Linked DNA regions of Homo sapiens: regions 1, 3, 4, 5, 6 and 7 are each linked to region 2. The links are contacts of gene promoters, found by promoter capture Hi-C in blood cells and fetal thymus (Javierre and others, 2016). All regions are on one chromosome and are shown on one strand. The core of a region is centred on a gene start or on the middle of the fragment in contact, and the rest is flanking DNA. Distances in the headings are between cores, read along the strand shown. Region 1 has its middle 7.7 kb from the start of VSX1. Region 2 holds the start of NXT1 (nuclear transport factor 2 like export factor 1). Region 3 overlaps ACSS1 (acyl-CoA synthetase short chain family member 1). Region 4 overlaps APMAP (adipocyte plasma membrane associated protein). Region 5 overlaps ENTPD6 (ectonucleoside triphosphate diphosphohydrolase 6). Region 6 has its middle 15 kb from the start of BETALINC1. Region 7 overlaps PYGB (glycogen phosphorylase B).

The links. Contacts are between HindIII fragments. The CHiCAGO score rates a contact against its expected background, and 5 or more counts as called.
Region 1: a contact is called between a fragment that was not itself captured here and the fragment with the promoter of NXT1 in region 2, in 3 of 17 cell types (non-activated CD4 T cells, total CD4 T cells and naive CD8 T cells). The highest score is 7.9, in non-activated CD4 T cells.
Region 3: a contact is called between a fragment that was not itself captured here and the fragment with the promoter of NXT1 in region 2, in 1 of 17 cell types (naive CD8 T cells). The highest score is 5.0, in naive CD8 T cells.
Region 4: a contact is called between a fragment that was not itself captured here and the fragment with the promoter of NXT1 in region 2, in 8 of 17 cell types (total B cells, activated CD4 T cells, naive CD4 T cells and 5 more). The highest score is 17.6, in total B cells.
Region 5: a fragment that was not itself captured here is called in contact with the fragment with the promoter of NXT1 in region 2 in 4 of 17 cell types (total B cells, naive B cells, total CD8 T cells and 1 more); the score reaches 9.8 in total B cells.
Region 6: a contact is called between a fragment that was not itself captured here and the fragment with the promoter of NXT1 in region 2, in 1 of 17 cell types (activated CD4 T cells). The highest score is 6.1, in activated CD4 T cells.
Region 7: a contact is called between a fragment that was not itself captured here and the fragment with the promoter of NXT1 in region 2, in 2 of 17 cell types (total CD8 T cells and total B cells). The highest score is 7.7, in total CD8 T cells.

What each region holds. Positions count from the first base shown.
Region 1 is chr20:25,088,534-25,091,233 of GRCh38, forward strand. No RefSeq gene overlaps it. Among named protein-coding and RNA genes, the nearest start is that of VSX1, 7.7 kb to the left of the region's middle. The HindIII fragment of the contact is 721 bases long and covers 1,006-1,726 here.
Region 2 is chr20:23,349,470-23,352,169 of GRCh38, forward strand. NXT1 (nuclear transport factor 2 like export factor 1) reads left to right here and starts at 1,322. Exons shown (of 2, transcript NM_013248.3): 1 at 1,322-1,592. NXT1-AS1 (NXT1 antisense RNA 1) reads right to left here and starts at 1,998. Exons shown (of 3, transcript XR_937384.2): 1 at 1,861-1,998. RefSeq lists enhancers at 323-1,195, 904-1,043, 963-1,257, 1,196-2,067, 2,124-2,173 and silencers at 614-743, 1,364-1,633. The HindIII fragment of the contact is 12,471 bases long and covers 1-2,700 here.
Region 3 is chr20:25,036,213-25,038,912 of GRCh38, forward strand. All of the region lies in intron 2 of ACSS1 (acyl-CoA synthetase short chain family member 1), which reads right to left. Among named protein-coding and RNA genes, the nearest start is that of ACSS1, 21 kb to the right of the region's middle. RefSeq lists a silencer at 181-475. The HindIII fragment of the contact is 2,700 bases long and covers 1-2,681 here.
Region 4 is chr20:24,989,608-24,992,307 of GRCh38, forward strand. The region is part of intron 1 of APMAP (adipocyte plasma membrane associated protein); the gene reads right to left. Among named protein-coding and RNA genes, the nearest start is that of APMAP, 1.8 kb to the right of the region's middle. RefSeq lists an enhancer at 2,697-2,700. The HindIII fragment of the contact is 1,557 bases long and covers 545-2,101 here.
Region 5 is chr20:25,202,903-25,205,630 of GRCh38, forward strand. All of the region lies in intron 1 of ENTPD6 (ectonucleoside triphosphate diphosphohydrolase 6), which reads left to right. Among named protein-coding and RNA genes, the nearest start is that of ENTPD6, 8.6 kb to the left of the region's middle. The HindIII fragment of the contact is 254 bases long and covers 1,168-1,421 here.
Region 6 is chr20:21,543,343-21,546,042 of GRCh38, forward strand. No RefSeq gene overlaps it. Among named protein-coding and RNA genes, the nearest start is that of BETALINC1, 15 kb to the left of the region's middle. The HindIII fragment of the contact is 2,445 bases long and covers 214-2,658 here.
Region 7 is chr20:25,249,478-25,252,177 of GRCh38, forward strand. All of the region lies in intron 1 of PYGB (glycogen phosphorylase B), which reads left to right. Among named protein-coding and RNA genes, the nearest start is that of PYGB, 2.7 kb to the left of the region's middle. The HindIII fragment of the contact is 512 bases long and covers 1,101-1,612 here.

The DNA.
Region 1 (2,700 bases), core at 116-2,615, 1.7 Mb after region 2:
GGCAGATGCTGCACAGCCTTTGCTGGCCCTTCCACAGAAGTCAGAGCATTACTTCCATCACGTTCAGTCAGCGAGGCCATAGCATGAGTTTTGGGGGAGTGGCACTTCTGCTTTCATGGGCCCCTTCTTCCATAAAAATATTTAAAGTTGTATTTTGTGCCTATGTTGGCATAAAGGTGAATATAATCCAGTCTAGATTCATTATTGTATATTCTTTATTATTGTACTCATTTTTCCTTCTGATTTTAAAATATATTCAATGGCATTAGAAGCATAGGCCCTGGGCATTGTACCCAAGGCATTAGTGTGCACTGGCCCTGCTGACTGGTTTAAGCAGCCACAAGCCACCAGATTCAAGGACAGGACACAGATTCAAGGTGGGACACAGGACCCACCACATCGCACTTGCAGGGCCAGGCGCCAAGCAGTGCTCAGCCACCCATCAACGCCCAGCCCAAATGGTTCCTCACCGCAGAGCCTCCCCAGGTTTTCCTGCCCCAGCTGGAACAAAATCACTGCTGCACTCTTGAAGCACTTGATGCTCCTTTGGTCTTATTTTCTTATTCTTAAGTTCTTTTGTGTCTGTTCTCATCTCCTACCTGGCTCCAGGAGCCCAGAACTGAGTCTTTTCATTAACACATCCCCTGGACAAATGTTCTTTACCTTCCAGGACAGTGACTTCCCTGGTGGCCTCTGGAAGAGGCCTCCTTACTATGTGCCAGTGGTTCTCAAAGTGTGGTTCCCAAAAGTGGTTCTGGCCACCTGGGCATTGGCCAGAAAAACAAACTCTTGGACCCCATCCAGACCTCCAACATCAGAGACCTTGGGGAGACCCATGATCTGTGTGTTCACAAGCCCCCCAGAGGACCCTGAGCCCCACTCAAGTTTGAGAACCACATCTTCTATTAATGCTTCATGAACCATATATCCTGACTGGTTTTACAAATATGTTGTGGGTGCAGAAACACCCAGTTATTCTCAAATGCTCTGAGGAGCTATGAGGAAAGCTTGAGTTCAGCACTAAGATAATAGTCAGCACCAGACATGAGCTTAGGGAATCAGGAAATTGAGGTTCTAAAAGGAGAAGGAAAAAAGAAAAGAGAAAATTTTATTTTAAAATGTTACATATCAAAAAATACATTAGTGGGAAAACTCACAGCCACCATCGGTGGGGCCCTTGGTCTGCGCCAGGCACTGCAGAGCTTCTCACGAACCCATTCACTTACCACTTGTGACAGCTCTGATGAGGGAGGTCCTGTATCGTCCCCATTCTGTGGGTGAGAAAACGGAGGCCCAGAGCTGGGACCAGCCCAACAGCCAGGGGAGCGGTCAGGACCCAAATCCTGACGGTCAGGCTAGAAGCAGCGAAATCTCCACGGGGCCTGGTCTGTGGCTTAACCTTGGTTTTGTTCTTCATGTTGCAGCGCTTGGGATCTGGCGAGGTCTGACTCTTACACTGTTCCAACTGCTGTAGACGGATGGCATTATGGGCTTGAGGCAGATTTCCCAGAGGCTCACATGCCCCATGGCCGGTCTTTTCCCTTTAGGTCCTGAGACAATAGGAAAATCCTGGGTAGGAATCCAGGTAACACTTTGATTCCAAAGAACATACTTCTCTTCCTCCTTTTCCAGCCTCTTCACTGTCTCTCTCCTCTCCTCTCTTCTCTTCCTTAGCTTCTTCTGGTTAAGTTCCATCTGTAAGACAAAGGAACCCAGAGCCAAGTTAAGCTTAGGAGAGGACACACCATCCAGTCCCTGAGCTAAGCCCACCCTCGGACCCCACTGCAGAAAAGGTCATGAGCAGAGGGCACAGAAGGATCTGCCTCTCCTCCTCTCCCCCATGGCAGACAAAAGCAGGTGCACTGTGTGGACATCAAGAAGGTGAGAGGGAGGTGACATAGGCCACCCTAACCAGAAGGTCACACCTGGGCATGTGAGGGGCCGCTGAAGGACAGCCCAAGAGCTGCTGCTGAGCTTCATTTCTGGTATTAAACAAGCACTAGGTCATCTCTTGGCAATTGAGAAACCTGGCCAATGATAATGTGCTTTTAACCAGCTCATATTAGAAGTGAATGTGATCACTATCCCAGCTCACAGGTAGCACCGAGGCTCTAGGCAAAGGTCAGAACAACTCTGCCAGGGTGGCGTGACTGCGGGTTCCTGCCTCTGCTTGCTGGGGACCTACTTACTCCAAGGAGGCAGGCACCGGCCATGACCCTATTTGAAGGAGGTCTTTGCTCCTCCCTCTGTGCTCAACTCCCAGTCAGCTCCCTCCAAGGCATCCGCCACAATTGCAACCGTTCACTCACCTGCTGGTTTACTGCTTTACCCATCTGCCTTGCCGGATGCTGTAGCTGACAGTGCTGGCAGGCTGCCCTCCGGGTCGCCTGCAGCCTCTGTAGACAGTTCACACACACACCACAGCTTCCTGCCTGCAGCACCTGCCACTCGAGCGGAGGATGCCCCAAAGCCAGGAGTGCACCAGCTAGGACTGAAGTCCTGGGGGGCAGAGGGTGATGCCTCCAGCAGCCACTCTTGACAGATGACAGGGGTTGATGGATGATACCTGGCCAAGGGGTGCAATGATCCTGTGGTAGGAAAATCCCGAAGAGAAATCACCTTGCATAGTCACCCGAGGTCCTGGTGTGATTGAGCCTTGGGAAATGCCACTTGCTGTCACAGCTTCTCTGTGTCCCTGCC
Region 2 (2,700 bases), core at 72-2,571:
TCCATTCCATCCACGCTGATTTAGATCAATCCAAGTATCACTGCCTTGGGGTTCAAAAGGCCATGTTAGTTCACAAAGCCCCGAAAATGCTCTTTCACACTCTCTGCTCAGCCTCCAACGTGTCTTTTTAATAATCCAAACTTTCCACCTACTTAACTGAAGTGTGTGGGGGGAGAGGGTGCGGGGGGGAAGGGGTGGCCTATACTAAATAGCCCAACTGTTTTCCACTTGTCCTGAAATCTGAGACCAAGATTCTCTTAGGAATGCAAGCAAAGGGAGCCGACGGGACGCCAAGAAAGCACAGGTTAAACTACCTCACTTCATCTAGCCCCATTTCTCTCCTGGCTTTTCAATTAATTATTCAGCCTCAGACCAGCAGATGGAGCTGAAAATGTTGTCTAAAGAAATGAGGTTTTTCTTTTAATTTACAAGCTATAGTTTCTCATGCCTCCACACTGAATGGTTACATCCTGTTGAGCCTGTTCGTAAAGTTCAGTAAAAATCCAGTTCTCATTCCAGAACAGCTGAATCGTAGCTATGAACGCGGAAGAACAGAGTCCCAACCCCAGCCGGGCCCGGGTTTCCCGGGGCCCCTCAAGCCTCAGGGCAGTGGAGAGCCGCCGTCACGCCCCCGCCTCCCCCACGTCCCACCCTCGCCCCAGTCTCCTCCCACTTTTAGCTACTTTTCCCATCTGACTAAAACTGGCTTCCTCCGTGTCCACCAAGATGTCGCCTCTAAGTGGCCTAACTCCTAAAGAGCGCGATCGGCTCAAGCACTCCGCCACGCGGTTTCCACGGGGCGCGGCCGGCGTTGCCCTCGCCGTGGCCTCAAGCATTGCGGCGCCCCACATGTTGCCAGACGGAAGGCCTCGGCGGGGTCAGGCAGCTGCTGCTGGCCGTGACTACATCACTGGTGACGTTTCACGAGACTTTTAACTGAAATCACTCCAATACAGGCGCATGCGGGACGAGGGGAAAGCATCTCACCCGACCCCACACACCTTCCCCTCCCTCTCCAGCCTAGCGGCCTCCGCTCAGCGGAAAAAAAAGCAGACGCTACTCCCCGCTCTAGGTGCGGGACCTAAGAGGTTTGGCCCAATCAGGCATCCCACCTAACCAGACGGGCCGGAGTCTGTGGCCCGGTTGGACCAACGAAAACTCTAGGGCGGATTTGCCGGGATTTCTGGGAAAGTGACACTCCCGGAAGCTACCGCCTCTTATAAGCCACACATGGGCGGAGTTAGCCTTCCGGCCCGCAGTCCCACTGGCTGACTTCGCTGCCCGTCACGGGAATGCGGGAGAGGGCGGCGCCGGGGCGCTCGCGTCTGCGTGGAGACCGGCTGGCCGCGCGCGGGAAGCCGCGGAACTGCGCCGGAAAGTCCCCCGGCTCTGGGGCCCCGGTGACCCAGAGTAAGCCTCCAAGAAGGAGGAGGAGGAGAGAAAGGCGGCTCTTCCCGTGCCCCTACCAGAGGCTTCGGTGGGCCCACCTTGTGACCTCCGCGGCCGGCCCCTCAGTGGAACTGCGTCCCACGCGGGGGGCGTCCCGACCGTGGGGGCCGCGGCCCGCGCTGACCCTGGACGTCGCCGCGCAGGTACGTTGCCGTCCCCCGGCGGTCTGACCCCCGAGACAGCCCCTAGTGCATACCCCACGCCCTCCTCCATTGTCGAGAATGAGACACGGCTGTGCCTTTGTCCACGTGGTAGAGTTGCCGCCGCGGTGAGGCTCTCGCCTGTGCAAAAAGCGTGGCAGCGAATTCTCATCAACGAGGGGAGGCGCGTCCCCTCACAGCGCAGCTCTCGGGTCTGAGGAGGGCCGGGCAGGGCGTGCGTCTGTCTAGGTTTGAATTAAAGGCGACTCACAGGAAATAAGGCCATGCCACTGTGGTAGCTTTTCCCGTCCATCTCCGGACACTCGACGGTGTGGGTCGTGCGAGGAGGCGGCAGTCTTCACAGCCTCTTACTCTAGTCCTCACGGTCAGGTTCTTTTTCTGATTTGACACAGACAGCGGGACTGACGACCTCATAGGTAGCTGAAAACCGTAAGTGGAGATGGTCCTTCTATGGTGTGTGGGGGCGTGGCCAGTTGTTAGATTGTGTTTGGAAAGACAGCCAGGGGCGGAGAAGAGGGGCATTTCTGAGATGATGGGGGGACTGGTGCCATGGAGGGAGGAGGAGTGAGGTGGAGATCGGGAATTCCAGCCAAAGAGAAATGGGGTCCCTGGGAGAAAATTCCCACTCTAGCAGTCCTGGAGTTGTGCTCATGGAGACTTGCTTACGCGAGTACAAGGACAGCGTTGTATTGACAAAATTTCAGCCCTCAGTCTAGTCTTGTAAACGATAGATCAGGAGTGTACTTAACCGTCGTTACTTTGATCCAGCCCTAGGTTTCCCTTTTCTCATTTGTAAAATTGTTATAGTAATACCTTTTTCATCCATTTGTGGTAACATTTAAATGAGGTAATTTGTGTGAAGCCCTTAGCAAACACAGCGCTTCTTAGTCGTGGGTTCCGCGTGGGGTGGATTCAACCAACCTCAAATCAAAAATATTCTTCAGAAAAAGAAAAATGCGTTTGTACTGAACATGTAGAGGCTTTTTTTTTCTTGTCATTATTTCCTAAACTATACAGTATAACAACTATTTACATCCCATCTACATTGTATTAGGTATTATAAGTTACCTACAGATGATGAAGGTATATA
Region 3 (2,700 bases), core at 82-2,581, 1.7 Mb after region 2:
TGCAAATGATGTGCACAAAAATACAAATGTGGCCTTGTGTTCCTGGTGCTTAACACTAGGAAAACGCTGACTGGCCTTGGGGAAGGAAGAAGACTTATTACCAACTCTTAACATCAATTGGGAATAACTTTTATCCAATGCTAAAGATACAATCTGACTGCAAGTAATTGTGACCAACACGATAACTGCCTGAACTCAGACGGTACAACTGCACCCCTGCCCCCCACCCCCCGCCTCAGAATTTAAAATTAGTCCAAAACAGGAAACAGCTGGAAACAGAGTTCAGAGAAAAGAGAGGAAGAAATACACTGGTATTTATTTTTTCATCTGTCTTTCAATCAGAGCTAGTTTTGTCACGGTTAATATTGAAAGTGTCTTTTCCTCCTAGACATTTCCTGATGAAGGCCCAGGATAAGTAAGTCCTGTGTGTGCTCTCGTGTTTAAGAAATAAACAAATTAAGGCTGGGCATAGTGGCTCACAGCTGTAATCCCAGCATTTTGGGAGGCTGAGGCAGGCAGATCACTTGAGGTCAGGAGTTTAAGACCAGCCTGGCCAACCATAGCAAAACCCTGTGTCTACTAAAAATACAGAAATTAGCCAGGCGTGGTGCTGCATGTCTGAATCCCAGCTACTTGGGAGGCTAAGGCAGGAGAATCGCTTGAACCCAGGAGGTGGAGATTGCAGTGAACTGAGATCCCATCACTGCACTGCAGCCTGGGTGACAGAGCTAGACTCTGTCAAAAAAAAAAAAAGAAGAAGAAGAAAGAAAGAAAAAGAAAGAAAGAAGAAAGAAAGGAAGGAAGGAAGGAAGGAAGGAAAGAAAGAAAGAGGGAAAGAAAGAAATTGAGAATGCATGATTGTTTATTGCTTACAATTATTCTGGCAGTCAGTATTCATGAAATAAACATTAGCTAACAGACTTCTTTGTTGTCCATCAAGTACAAGGTCTGCTTGGGTAGAGATCTGGGTTTTGCTTATTGCCTTCCTCCTGGCATCCACCTAGCTCATATAAGGTACTCAATAAATATTTGTTGAGCAAATGGGCGCAGCAGGTGAGCATGAAGTGGGAAGGACCTCCACCAAGAGCGACACCCACCCTGCAGACACCCTGTGTCCTCCTTCCCCTGAGGGGCTAGGCTGCTGTCACCTTGCATCACGCTGGCATGAAGATGTGCTGCTGCTCTGAGAAGCAAATGGGAAGGACCCCCTCTGAGAAACCAGCCTACAGAAACGTTTCATTTTCTTCTGCCAATAAGGGAAGTAAACCCAGGTAATTGTCTTGATATGTGAAGGCCTCTGACAGACACAAAGCATTTCCTCAGGCTCAGTCACTTCTCTCCAAGCACCGGTGCTGATGGGGGCTGGGGAAGGCCAACTCCATGGTCTAGATCCAAAACTTGAAAGGACATTCCTATGCTGTCTCTAGAATTTGATATTTTCTTCAGCATGCTGTGTCAGGAACATATTCGTAGTAAGAGAAGAAAGGATCAGCCTTAGGGAAGGGAAGCCTGGCGAGGCTGACCCCTTCTCACGCAGGAGGAGCGTGGAAGGCCACGCAAAGCATGGATGGCCAGCTCGCATCTCATGGACCCAGGCCTGGGGAACAGACTCCTTCCCTCCTGGCAGCCTCCTCTGGCCCTGACATTACTGTAGCCACTGACTGTCATTCAATGGTGGTAAGATTTGCTCACTCTGCTGAGAGAACAGAAGACCAGGAAGTCAGCTAGCAGGGCTCATAAACCAAGTATGAAATTTCTCACGTCATTATTTGATGTCATGACCATGACATTTAGCAAAGAGAAGCTGCCGTGAAAACATAAAGTGGCAGCCGCACTTGAACATGAATGGTCCCCTGGGCCAAGGCGGGCCCAGGCACAGCGAGGGCCCCCAGGAGACATGAGCTGAGTTGCTAGTAGTGATGCCAGCTCAGCCAGTAACAAGATCACTAAAGCTATGTGTGTTCTAAATTCCTTATGGAAAGTGAAAGTCTCTTCCCTGAGGTTTTGCTAGACTCTGTGGAAAGCGCTGAACCTGCAAGTTTATCACTCAGGAGTCTCACGGGAGGCCAAACAATGACTGATCAGAGAGCAGGGTTCCCAACACAGCCCCCCACACCACTGGGGCCTGAACTGTCTCATCTGTGAAATGGCCTAATAATAGGACCCACTACCAAGGTGGTCGTGGAGACCAAATATGAAGTTGCAGGCACCTTTGAAGGTGACCTGTAAACAGTGGCCATAATGACTGCAGAAAATACAAGACATGGGAAAAAGAGAATTATTGAACACTGATGGACCTTTAAGAAAGGTGGGCACCTCAGGCACCTCCTTCTCAGGAGGGCAGGTGCAAAATGCTGGTTTGCCTTATGGAAGCTGCAGTCTCCGTGTCGCCGGCTCAGGGCACATGCACCTCAGCTGTGTGAATGCCTTGCAGGAAGCCCTCACCTGCACAGCCTGCCTGCTCCATGCCCCCAAGGCAGGTGCTGAGGGCGGGAGTAGATCTGAGAAGGATGCAGAGCCTCCTACAGTTGGGGTTGCTGCCAGTCTGGGGGTTCCAGGCACTCAGCCCGAGGCCTGTGCTTCCAAAAGGCCAGAGGGAAGGCAGTTCCACCCCACATGCTCTGCACAGCCTACCACCATCTGCCATGTCGTCCTGTCACTGCCCCCCTGCTGGCTACCCAAGCTTCTCCAGCCATGATT
Region 4 (2,700 bases), core at 73-2,572, 1.6 Mb after region 2:
TGGAACCTGAGAAAATCAGATAGCATCAACCCATCTTTTTTAGTGACAGCATCTTGAATTTGTTCATTTTTCACAATCCTTTAAACTGGGGCTCCTAGATTCATCAATTTATCCTTGAAAAAAATTAAGAAATCAAGAAACAAGTTTAAAAAGCCATCTGAAAATACACACCTGGGGCAAAGCTGAGACAAACACTCCAGCTGCCTTACTCCTCATGAATTCGTGAATGCCCAATCTGTTTCTCCATACTTCCTCCCTTACTCTTCAGTCTCCAAGAGGAAAAAGGAAAATGGACCTAGCAGACTTTTAATTAAACTAAAATCCTTCAGAAGTTTATTGAAAAAGGAGAATTATACAGAATTTAATGTATTGAAACATATTAAATCCTCAATGTATTTATTCTGCATCCCTAAACAGTCACATATGGACATTAAACAGTTCTCTTCCTAGATAGAACTGTGTTTCAAACAGAAAGGAATAGTTCCACAGAGTACAATTAAGTTTCTAAAGCATTTCGGGAAATCAATGTCAAATAATAATTATAAGCTTGCACCGGTATGTTAAAGTACTTAGCTCATCTATGTTCCACACTGAATAAAAGAATTTACCAACCAAATTCTCCATTATATTTCAAATACAGTAATTCAAGAGCTTTGGCATAAAGTCTTATTTCCAAAGCATAATTTTAAAAATACACTTCTCAGTCATTGTCCAGCTGCCAGTTCTATCCTTCTTCATTCATTTTCATTTCTCTTTTGACTCTATTCTCTGTAACTTCATATAAACCACCTCACACACATAGACCTCAATGATCTCATCAGCAAAACAAAGCAAACACCCACCTTTTGTGCCAAGAGTTGGGAGACCACCCAACGTATTACTAGGGGTCCCTACCACTGCTAAAATCTATGTCTTAGTTCTGTCAGTTTAGTAATATGTCTTTCAAGGCTTCCTTTATTCTATTTAGCACATCTAAAGTGCTAAAGTTTATTCTAATAGTTTCGTGTTTTTACTTCTGAATTTAGATTCCTTTACTTCGCCCACTATACACAGGCTTTCCTGGCTTATGTTGAACCCTCGACTTTTAAGGTAATCAAGAATACTATTACATGAACTACTAGAAATGACCACAAAATAAATGAAAAATATAGGAGAAATGCAGAAGAAAAATAAGAAAAACAGCTACCATGTTACAATAATAATTGCGGAAAGGAAGGGTGGTGACAAGACCTCACTTTGAAAGAGATCATTACAGATATACAGAAAAGGGATAAACAAACAAGAAGGACAAACACAGGGAAACAGGAACAATGTTCATGGACAGGGAAGTCAAGGAAATAAGTAAACATAAATGTAAAAGGCACACTGGAAAAGATCAGGCAGTAAAAGATGACTTTAGAATCAGATTTACTTACTCATTAAGGAAGAAATCCCCACAGAGAACCTGAAAAAAACAATTAAGTCTGCCTGCTTGCCCTGGGGCCAGAAGTGTGAGCCAGCCAACTTGAGAGTTGGGACTACCTAACCGGTGCCCTCAGGGGCTGTAGGCCCTGGTTTTCAACACACTGCACCTAATGACAAACTCAGGCCACTGCTCTTCCATTTCTCAGGTAAAAATGCCTTGTTTTCAAGATTTCTGTAGGAAAGTGTTGCCAATTCTTGCATGTCCATTCTAAATGGCTCCTCAATCATCAACAGATGATTAATTCACAATATTCACAGTAAGTAGGGTGATCAGATTGTCCCAGTTTGCCCAGGTTTAGCACTGAAAGTTCTACATCCTTGGAAACCCCAGTCCAGGGCAACGCAGGATGGTTGGTCAGGATATATGGGAGCATCTTCCCGATCTTTTCACTGGCCCAAGGAGTCAACTATCACCGCAAAGTCTTCTCTCTAAATTGCCTCTCTAGAGCCTAAATGCTCCTTCCTGCCATCGCTCTCCTTCAAATGTGTTCCTCTTATCATCAGTCAATAAACTCAGTCTACAGGGGCAAAAACTGCCTCTCATTCATATGTACCCCACCACCTCTTGGCACACTACTGATGAACAAATATTTCCAGTATTTCTATCAAATATAAGTCAATCAGTCCCACAACTTCAAGCTTGGTCTATGGGGCCTCTTGATTCTCCCTGAAACTTAAAAGTTATGAAATTCAGGACACAGAATTGAAAAGTGAATTTTAAGTATCTTATATTGAAATCTATGCTTACGAATCATGATTCAGTTTTTAGCTAACAAAACACAGCATTCTTATATTCTGAAAGATGGGAGAGGAGGCAAAGGGCAAAACCTGATATTTCTTAGGTGTCAACAACTACAGTTTCCTATGTTTCTCCATCCCTATCAGGAAAAACTGCCAGGCTGAATTCTCACAAAAATTGCCTACAATGTCACTACTGTTCTCCACTCTTTCCAAGAACCGCGGTGAGGACTGGTCACGCAGCGTGAGGGGGGCAGGTGCAGAAGAGCAAGTGTAGAAGCCATCTCTTCGCCGGATAACGAGGCAGGACCCCAGCATCTCGTGGGACCTCCTCCCTTCGGGAAATTGCGAGCGGGGAACCAGGAACACGCAGGGCCCCGGCCAAGTAGCTGTGCTCAGGGGGATCATTTAAGCCAAAGGAAGGACAGCGCGAGGGGAGCGAGGGAAAGGCGAGGAAGCAACCGCTATGCAGGGTGGGGCAGGAGTGAGGGAGGGAAG
Region 5 (2,728 bases), core at 45-2,544, 1.9 Mb after region 2:
AGTGCCCTTTTGTTTTAACTTTCAGGACTCCCTTTAGTAGTCTGGTAGGGCAGATCTAGTGGCAATGAACACGCACATCTTTTATTAATCTGGAAGTGTCTTAATTTCTCCCTCATTTGTGAAGGACAGTTTTGCTGAATGTAGAATTCTCTGTTGACAGATTTTTTTGTTTGTTTGTTTTAGCAGTTTGGGGGTATCTTCCCACTGCCTCTGGCCTCTGAGGTTTCTGCTAAGACATTGGCTAACAGTGTTATTGAGGATTCTTTGTACATCATGAGCCATTCTTTTGCTGCTTTCAATATTCTGCCTTTGTCTTTACACAGTTTGATTATATTGTGTCTTCATGTTGGTCTCTTTGGGTTTATCTTACGTGGGGTTTACTGAGCTTCTTGGATGTTTATATTCATGTCTTTAGTCAAATTTGGGAGGTTTTTAGCTATTCTTTCTTCACATAATTTCTCTGCCCCATTCTCTCTTCTCTTTCTTAGATTTCCATAATGTGCATGGTGCACGTGAGGGAGGCCCCTAAGTCCCTGAGGCTCTGCTCACTTTCCTCATTCTTTTTGTTCCTCTGACTTGATATTTTCAAATGTGCTATGTTGAAGTTTGCTGATTCTTCTACCGACTCAAATCCCTCTGGTCAGAGTTTTCAGTTCAGTTTTGTATTTCTCAGCTCCACAATTTCTGTTTGATTCCTTTTTATAATTTCTCATTTTGTTGTCATATGTTATTTTCTTGATTTCTTTTCATTCTTTATCTGTTTTCCTTCAGCTCTTTTAGCATATTTAAGACAGTCATTTTTAGTCTTGGTCAAGTACATCCAGTGCCTGCATTTCTTCAGGGATGGGTTCTGCCACTTCATTTTCTTCCTCTGAATGAGCTGTGTTTTCCTGTTTCTTTGTATGCCGTGTGATTTTTTTGCTGAACATTGGGCATTTGAAAAACAGCTCCTTGTCCCAGTCTTTGAAGACTAACTCTGTATTGGGAATGGCCCCCACCAAATAGCAGGATCTGCCTAAGTGTGGGGATCAGCTCTGGATGAAGGCCAAAGTTTCCTCTGGTTTCTTCTGAGGATGCATCTTCCCTGGGCCTGTGTATGTGTTTTTTTCAATTTCCCCATATTCGTGGCTGTTTCAAAATCTCTTACTTTCATTATGAATACTTTCAAGCTTCCCTTTGGAATATACCAAGAAATGCATTTGGAGTAACCTTTGTTTTTCTATCATTGTAAATTTAGATTCTGGAATTGGGGTTTGGTGGTGTGATGTGTTGCTCACATGTGGCCAGAACTCCTGCTCCTAAAAGGACTTTGAGATCAAGGAACACATATTTAATCTCCCCTTTATGCCTTGGTTTTAGTTCCTCTTTCCAAGTTGAATAACCAATTTTTCATTGCTGTTTGGTTTAAGTTGGTGCTTTGAAGCTTAATCTCAGTACCCTTAACTCTGAATTATCGAATTTTGATAAAAATGTGTGCCCTTATTTTTTGGTAAGAGAAAGCAGGTCTTAATGTCTGCCGGAACACAATTTATTTGCCTTGTTGGCTCCATTAAACTTTTACAAAGCTTTATATATATATATATATATCTTACTTTCTCAAAGTCTCCCCCAGTCCCTCCTTGGGCCTCAGATGTTCTACTGTATTTCTCACCTGTCATTCTTGCCCCAGGTATGCGTGGGGCTATAGTCATCCTACAGCTTTGCCTAGCAGTGCCCATAACCATTTCCCTGACTTCCTATCTGGGCTCTGAGCTCAGAGTCAGGTGAAACAGAGATCTGTTCCTCAGGCAGCCCAAGACAGATTAGGATGTTGCAGAAAGGTCCGCTCTGCTCCCTCCAGTTCAAGGGAAGGAATTGGGAACCGGGCTGCCGCATTCATCAGGTGGTGCCATGCTGGGGAGGCCTGGGGCAGGGGTGAGTGAAACACCTCAGAGTTCCTGACATCCTGAATGTGGCTGCTTCTGGGCTGGGCATTCTCTTGGTTGCTGTAGATCGTTGCCTGTTTTGCAGAGCTCCTATGCAATATTTTAACCAGTCTCTAGTTGTTTTTAGTGTTTCTCTGTGGGGGAACAAGGGCCTTTGAGCTTCCTCTTTTGCCGTCTTGCTGTGTCCTCTCCCTGTTTATGGATTTTCTACAGGACTCTGTTGTGTGTCTGGTGACGTTATAGAAGGTGCGGGGGTAGAGGAGCAGCCTCTTCCATTCTAGAGAAGGGCTTGGATGCCATGCTGGGCAGCAGCAGCACAAGACAAGCTGAGTCCCTGCCCTGGGGGCTCATGGCCTAGTGGGGAGACACAGACCTACAGGAATCAGGTCTATGAATACTGGTTTCATCACTGCTGGTGGTGGGTAAAGGGAGCTCAGAGAGTGCGTGATGGGGCATGTGCAGGTTGGGGGCATCCGGGAAGGGGGTGGCAGTGACATTTCAGTGGAGGTTTCAGAATGAAGACACGGTGCCAGTGTGGTGGGACAAGTATTCTGGGAATGCGTATCAGTCTGTGCCAGGGGCCTGAGGCAGGGAGAGGCTGAGTTCTAGGGGCAGAAGAAGGCACTGTTCTCAGAGCACTGTGGGCAAGGACGAAAGAGGAGTGCGATGAAGCCACAGGGGCCAGCAGGGACAGGGGCCGGCAGGGACAGGCCCAGGCAGAGGCTGCAACATGATCCTGAGAGCTGTGGGAAGCCCCCGAGTGTGGTGGGACCCAGGCCCAGAATAGGGCTGGGGAGGGGCTG
Region 6 (2,700 bases), core at 186-2,685, 1.8 Mb before region 2:
TCCAAGAGAAAGGAAGTAGAAATTCCCAGCCTCTTGAGGTTCAGCTCCAGAAAGTGGTAAAGCATGACTTCTCCCACATTTCATTGGTCAATGTGGTCACAGAACCTGTCCAGATTCAACGGGAGGGGACACATCCACCTCCCAGGGGAGGACTGTTAAAGGAGGTATTGCCCAGATTAACTGTCCCACAATTGTAACTGCTGAGCAGCAAAAAGCTTAGAGTGTAATTGCAATTGTATACGATAATTGCCTATACACATCTTCTCAAAGGAGCATGTCCAGTTTTTACAATTGTTTTTTTCCTCATTATGTTAGTTTTGATTATATTTACTGAAATGTATGTTCCCTCTGATTAACCTAAAAATAAAGTTTGGGCTTATATTTTTAAAATTTTATTTTTCTGATAATTTATTTTTGTTGTATTTTACAAAAGTGTGAATCTGAGGATGATAAAAAATTTAGAAAACCCTGGTTCTTACCCTCAGATAGTTTGCATAGTGCTATTATAGAAGATAAGAGAGTTAAATTAGGAAGCAATGTATACATGCTTCCCCCCTTATCATGGGGCTACCCCCCAGCAAACCCATTGTAAAGTTGAAAAGTCTTAAGTCCAATGATCATATATCAGAGACCATCTATACTGGATGGACTATCTGATGGATTGGAACAGGAGGGCAGTGGGGAGGGAGCCAGAACTCAGCCCCTGCTCCTATTCCCAAGCCCAGCTGTCTAGGACCTGGGCGTCCATTCAGAATAGGGATAACTGTTTATTCTCACAGACATGGGATTTGCTCAGCAAACCTGCATGGCTGTTCCCCAGCAGAGTGAGTGCTTTTTCCAAATCTTCCCAGAGAGATGGCTATCCATGGTCAAGCCATGAGCTGTCCAGCCAGAGGGGCAGCCATCTCCAGTTGGCATGGAGGCCCATAGATACTTGTGGCCATGTGAATCAGAGTCCTCATGGTCATCATAAGTGGGACATCAGAGAAAAAGATATTCAGAGTGTGTTAGGCTGTTCTTGCATTGATATATTTTATAATGAGCAATTATAGACTGGGTAACGTATACATAAAAGGTTTAATTGGCCCACAGTTCTGCAGGCTTTACAGGAAGCATGGTGATGGCATCTGCTTGGCTTCTAGGGAGGCCTCAGGAGGCTTACAATCATGGCAGAAGGCAAAGGGGGATAAGGCACTTCACATGGTGAGAGCAGGGGCAAGAGAGAGAGTAGGAGGGAGGTGCCACACACTGCTGAACAACAAGATCTCGGGAGAACTCACTCACTATCGTGAGAACAGCAACAAGGGGATGGTGCTAATCCATCGTCCAATCACCTCCTCCCAGGCCCTGCCTCCAGTACTGGGATTATAATTCAACATGAGATTTTGGCAGGGACAAATATCCAAACCATATCACAGAGTTAAATGTAAAGGCTTGCATTTGGAAAGCCATACCCAACAGCACAAGGTTGGAGGAGAGATGACATGGAAAAGAGGGGCTTTAGTTGACAGTAAGGTCAATATAGGTCAAGATGTCTCCCCCCACCAAATTAACTTAAAAAAAGAGAGAATGTGTTCTTAGATTCCGGTCATGGAAATTCATATCTGGAACAAAGGAAGTGAGAGTTCCACTGTATTCCACCCTGCTGAGAAAATGTATTCATCCACTCATCAATTATGAATGAGCTATCTCCTGGGGTGGATGCTAGGAATACAGAAATGAAGGATACGAGGCTAGCCCCGGGGATGCTGCTCTGTTTCTATTAATCAGAATTTGGTATTCCTTCGTGGGATACCTGCAGAGGGGTTCAGTTCTGATGTTACCCTTTCATGGGGATGTGGAAAATTAGAGTGAATCCCTGAGGACAGAACTGGGATGTGAAGGACTCAGATGATCACATATAGATGATATGTAAAGGAACGGACGATGTTTGATTTAGTGAATAAAAGAGAGGGGACTCTTGTTGCTTTTTTTATGTCCAACACTTATGACCAATCTGAAAGCCACTAGCCATATGGGACTATTTAAAGCTAATTAAAATACAATAAAATAAAAATTCAGTTTCTTAGTTGTAGTAGTCACATTCCCAATGATCAATTGCCGCAGGTGCCTAATACTGGAGGCACAGATGTGGAATATTTCCATCGTCACCGGAAGTTCTATTGGAAAGTGCTGGAAAAGGCTTCCATGTGGGAGATAATTTATTATCTCCATGCTTTATTTAGATGTGAGGGTTGAAATAATGATGATAGATCACTGAAAATTAGAGCAGAATAGATTTTAACTTTGTATTAGGAAAAACTTCTGAGCAGACATAGCTGTCCAGAGACGCCTGCAGGCAGTAAATCCCCTGTTACTCTAAGAATTCAGCTCAGGGTGGCCTGACTGAGATGCTCTGTATGATTGCTGGGGCTGGCCTTTCTCCCCTGGAGTATTCTCCGTGGTGTGGAAGATGTTCTTTATCACATGCCTTTTCTGTTCCAGGGGCTCAGCTCCATGCCTTCCCTGCACAATCACATTTATCGTTTCATTGCAATTCTGCAAGTCAGGTAATATTATCCCCCCTTTTACAGATAAGGAAACTGAGACTCAGCCAGATAAGTTGTTCAGGTTCCGGTAAGTGCAGTGATTCAATGGATCCAGGTTGTCAGATTCCAAAGCTTGTAACTGGGACAACTTAATTCTGATTTTTTAAAATTA
Region 7 (2,700 bases), core at 107-2,606, 1.9 Mb after region 2:
TGAAGCCACTTGGCAAAGATTTTACTTGCAGTGTACATCTAGGCAGTGAGCACTTGCTTTATGGATGGTATTTTAGAATATTTTTGTAGGGCATTAAGATATGTTTAATACGGTAATTGCTAAGAGATTGACTGCTTTTCCAAACTTATTCTGGGACATTCTTTTTTCTAAAATGGAGATGGTAAAAGGGACAGATTTGTTAGAATACCAACTGGGGCTCTTCATATTTGGTATGCAAAACATAGAAGTGGCAACGAATGGCCAAAACAGGTTATAACAAGGGCTTGGGATGACTTTGCCAGGAAAAGCAGCCAAGAAGCAGTGGCTCCCCCAGAATTCCCTGCTGTTGGGAGAGTTCTGATGCACAGCACCATTTTTTTTTTTTTTTTAATTCTGAGTCTTGCCCTGTAGCGTGAAGCTAGAGTGCAGTGGCGCGATCTCGGCTCAGTGCAACCTCCGCCTCCCGGGTTCAAGCAATTCTCCTGCCTTAGCCTCCCAAGTAGCTGGGATTACAGGCGCCTACCACCACGCCCGGCTAATTTTTTGTATCTTTAGTAGAGACGGGGTTTCACCATGTTGGCCAGGCTGGTCTCAAACTCCTGACCTCGTGATCCGCCCGCCTCGGCCTCCCAAAGTGCAGGAGTTACAGGCGTGAGCCAACGCACCCGACCCGCAACATCATTTTTATTGTCTAAGTGGCGGATGGCAAGGACATAGCTCTGCCTTCACATTCAAGGGCATTTCCTTGGAGCTGGACCAGGACTCAGCTCTACACCTTAGGGTGCCCATTGGAGTATTTATGTATAATCACATCCTGGAGAGGCCAGCGATGGGCTCAGGGATTACGGAAATGACCTTCATGAACAAGATAGTCCCTGCAACAAAACAGGTTTTTTGATCCTCCGTGAGATCTCTTTTGATTGTCTACGTGTGGTGGCTCTGGGTGGAAACCTTTCTCTTAAACCGCACAGTCTGTAAGTCGTAAAGTTGTAAACTTTTAGATCTCACAGTGTGTAAATAAGCTGTGTGCCTATTCTGAATAGGAAGGACATGGAAAATTGGGATTTAACTGCTTCTTTCGCTAATTCATGATGAAAATAAGCTTGCAATCCTTTCTTTGGAAAAGTTACATGCTTGCTGGTGATGGACCAGCAACCAGTCCCACCAGAGCCAATGAGAGGAGGTGTGCTCCCAAGAAAATAACTGCTGTGCCTCCCCCTCAGCCAGAAATGACCTCAGACATTCACCGGCACACTGCAGACTGTGGTAATGTGACACTCTAGAGCTCCTAAATAGAACGCTTTTATTGTTATTTTTGTCTTTTTTTAAATTATGCAAGTCCTGAAGGAAAAATTATTACTGGAGGAAAAATTAGAAAATATAGATAAGCCAGAAGGAAAAAAATTAACTGTAATCCTGTAACCCACTTCTATCGCCCACTTTGTGCTGTAAATATTTTGTGTTCTACATTGTTTTTTCCGTATTGGCAGAAACTTGTTTTTAATACATAAAATAACATTATACTGAACCTATTGTTTCATAACTCTTAGCACTTTATTTGTGGTACATAGCGAAAGAGTAGAAGTTGGGGTGTTCAGAGGAAGATTTGTCAAGCTTTGCCATGCTTGGCAAATCAGCACGTCAAAACATCTGGCTAACATGGAGAGCTTTGTGCTTGGCAAGAGGTGGCGGTTGGTCATGAAGACATTTAATGGATTCTCTGAAGTGGTGGCAAGGTGGCAAGGAGAGTCCAACCTGAAGCTGCAGAGCCTGGGATTGCGCTGCATGGAGAAGAAAGGGTGTGCGTGATTCCACGCTCCTTTTCATCCTGGCCTTTCCATTCGGTCTGTGCAACTGTGGGCTTGGGCGGATTTCTTTGCCATTATTGGCCTCAGTTTTCTCATCTTTAAAATGAGGGGAATCAAGCTGGTGATGTTTCCGAAGTCTGTTGCCATTCTGAAATGTTAGAGTTAAAATGTTTCTATTTCATATTGAATTGACATTCCATCTCTATCCAGAGAGAATTTGAGGATGCTTATGCTAGATACAGCACAAAAGGTTCACATTAGAAGGCCTCAGAGTGAGGGTTGGGGTGGGACAGTGAGGGTCAGGACACAAAACACAGACCAGGATCCTGGCAGTGAAAGCAGCCCATGCCCAGTTATGAGAGTCACGGGATCCCTTCTATAACATCCTGAAAGGACAGTTGCACGGTTTATTCTGTGGGCCTTTGTGAAGCTGTGTTGTCGATGTGCTGAGCCACTGACCTGCAGCACCCCTGCAGTGGATGTAACAATCAGTTTTTGAGACTCTTCCCATAAGCTCCTGGCATGACTACAACACAGATTAAGGAAAAGCAGCTCTACCTTGGGGCCCACACTGCTGTCCTAAATATTCCTAATGAGATAAACACAATGAAATACGATTAATCTTTTGGTTTGGCTGGACCCAGGAGTTAAAGAAGATGATCTAGAGAAGTGTTTTGCAGACCCTTCTGCTCTGTGATCCCCACTTCTGGGATTTGTTTTAATTAGTCAGTTGTGGTACCAGCCTCCGGAATCCTAACACTCCCAATTTTTCTGATGTATTTCCACTTTTATGTGTGAAGTTGAGCTTGCATCTCCTGGGCAGGCTTCCCTGACAGCAGATCGCTCAAAGTCATTTTCTCTGACCAGTAGCTGATGGTGGGTGCTGTTTTGT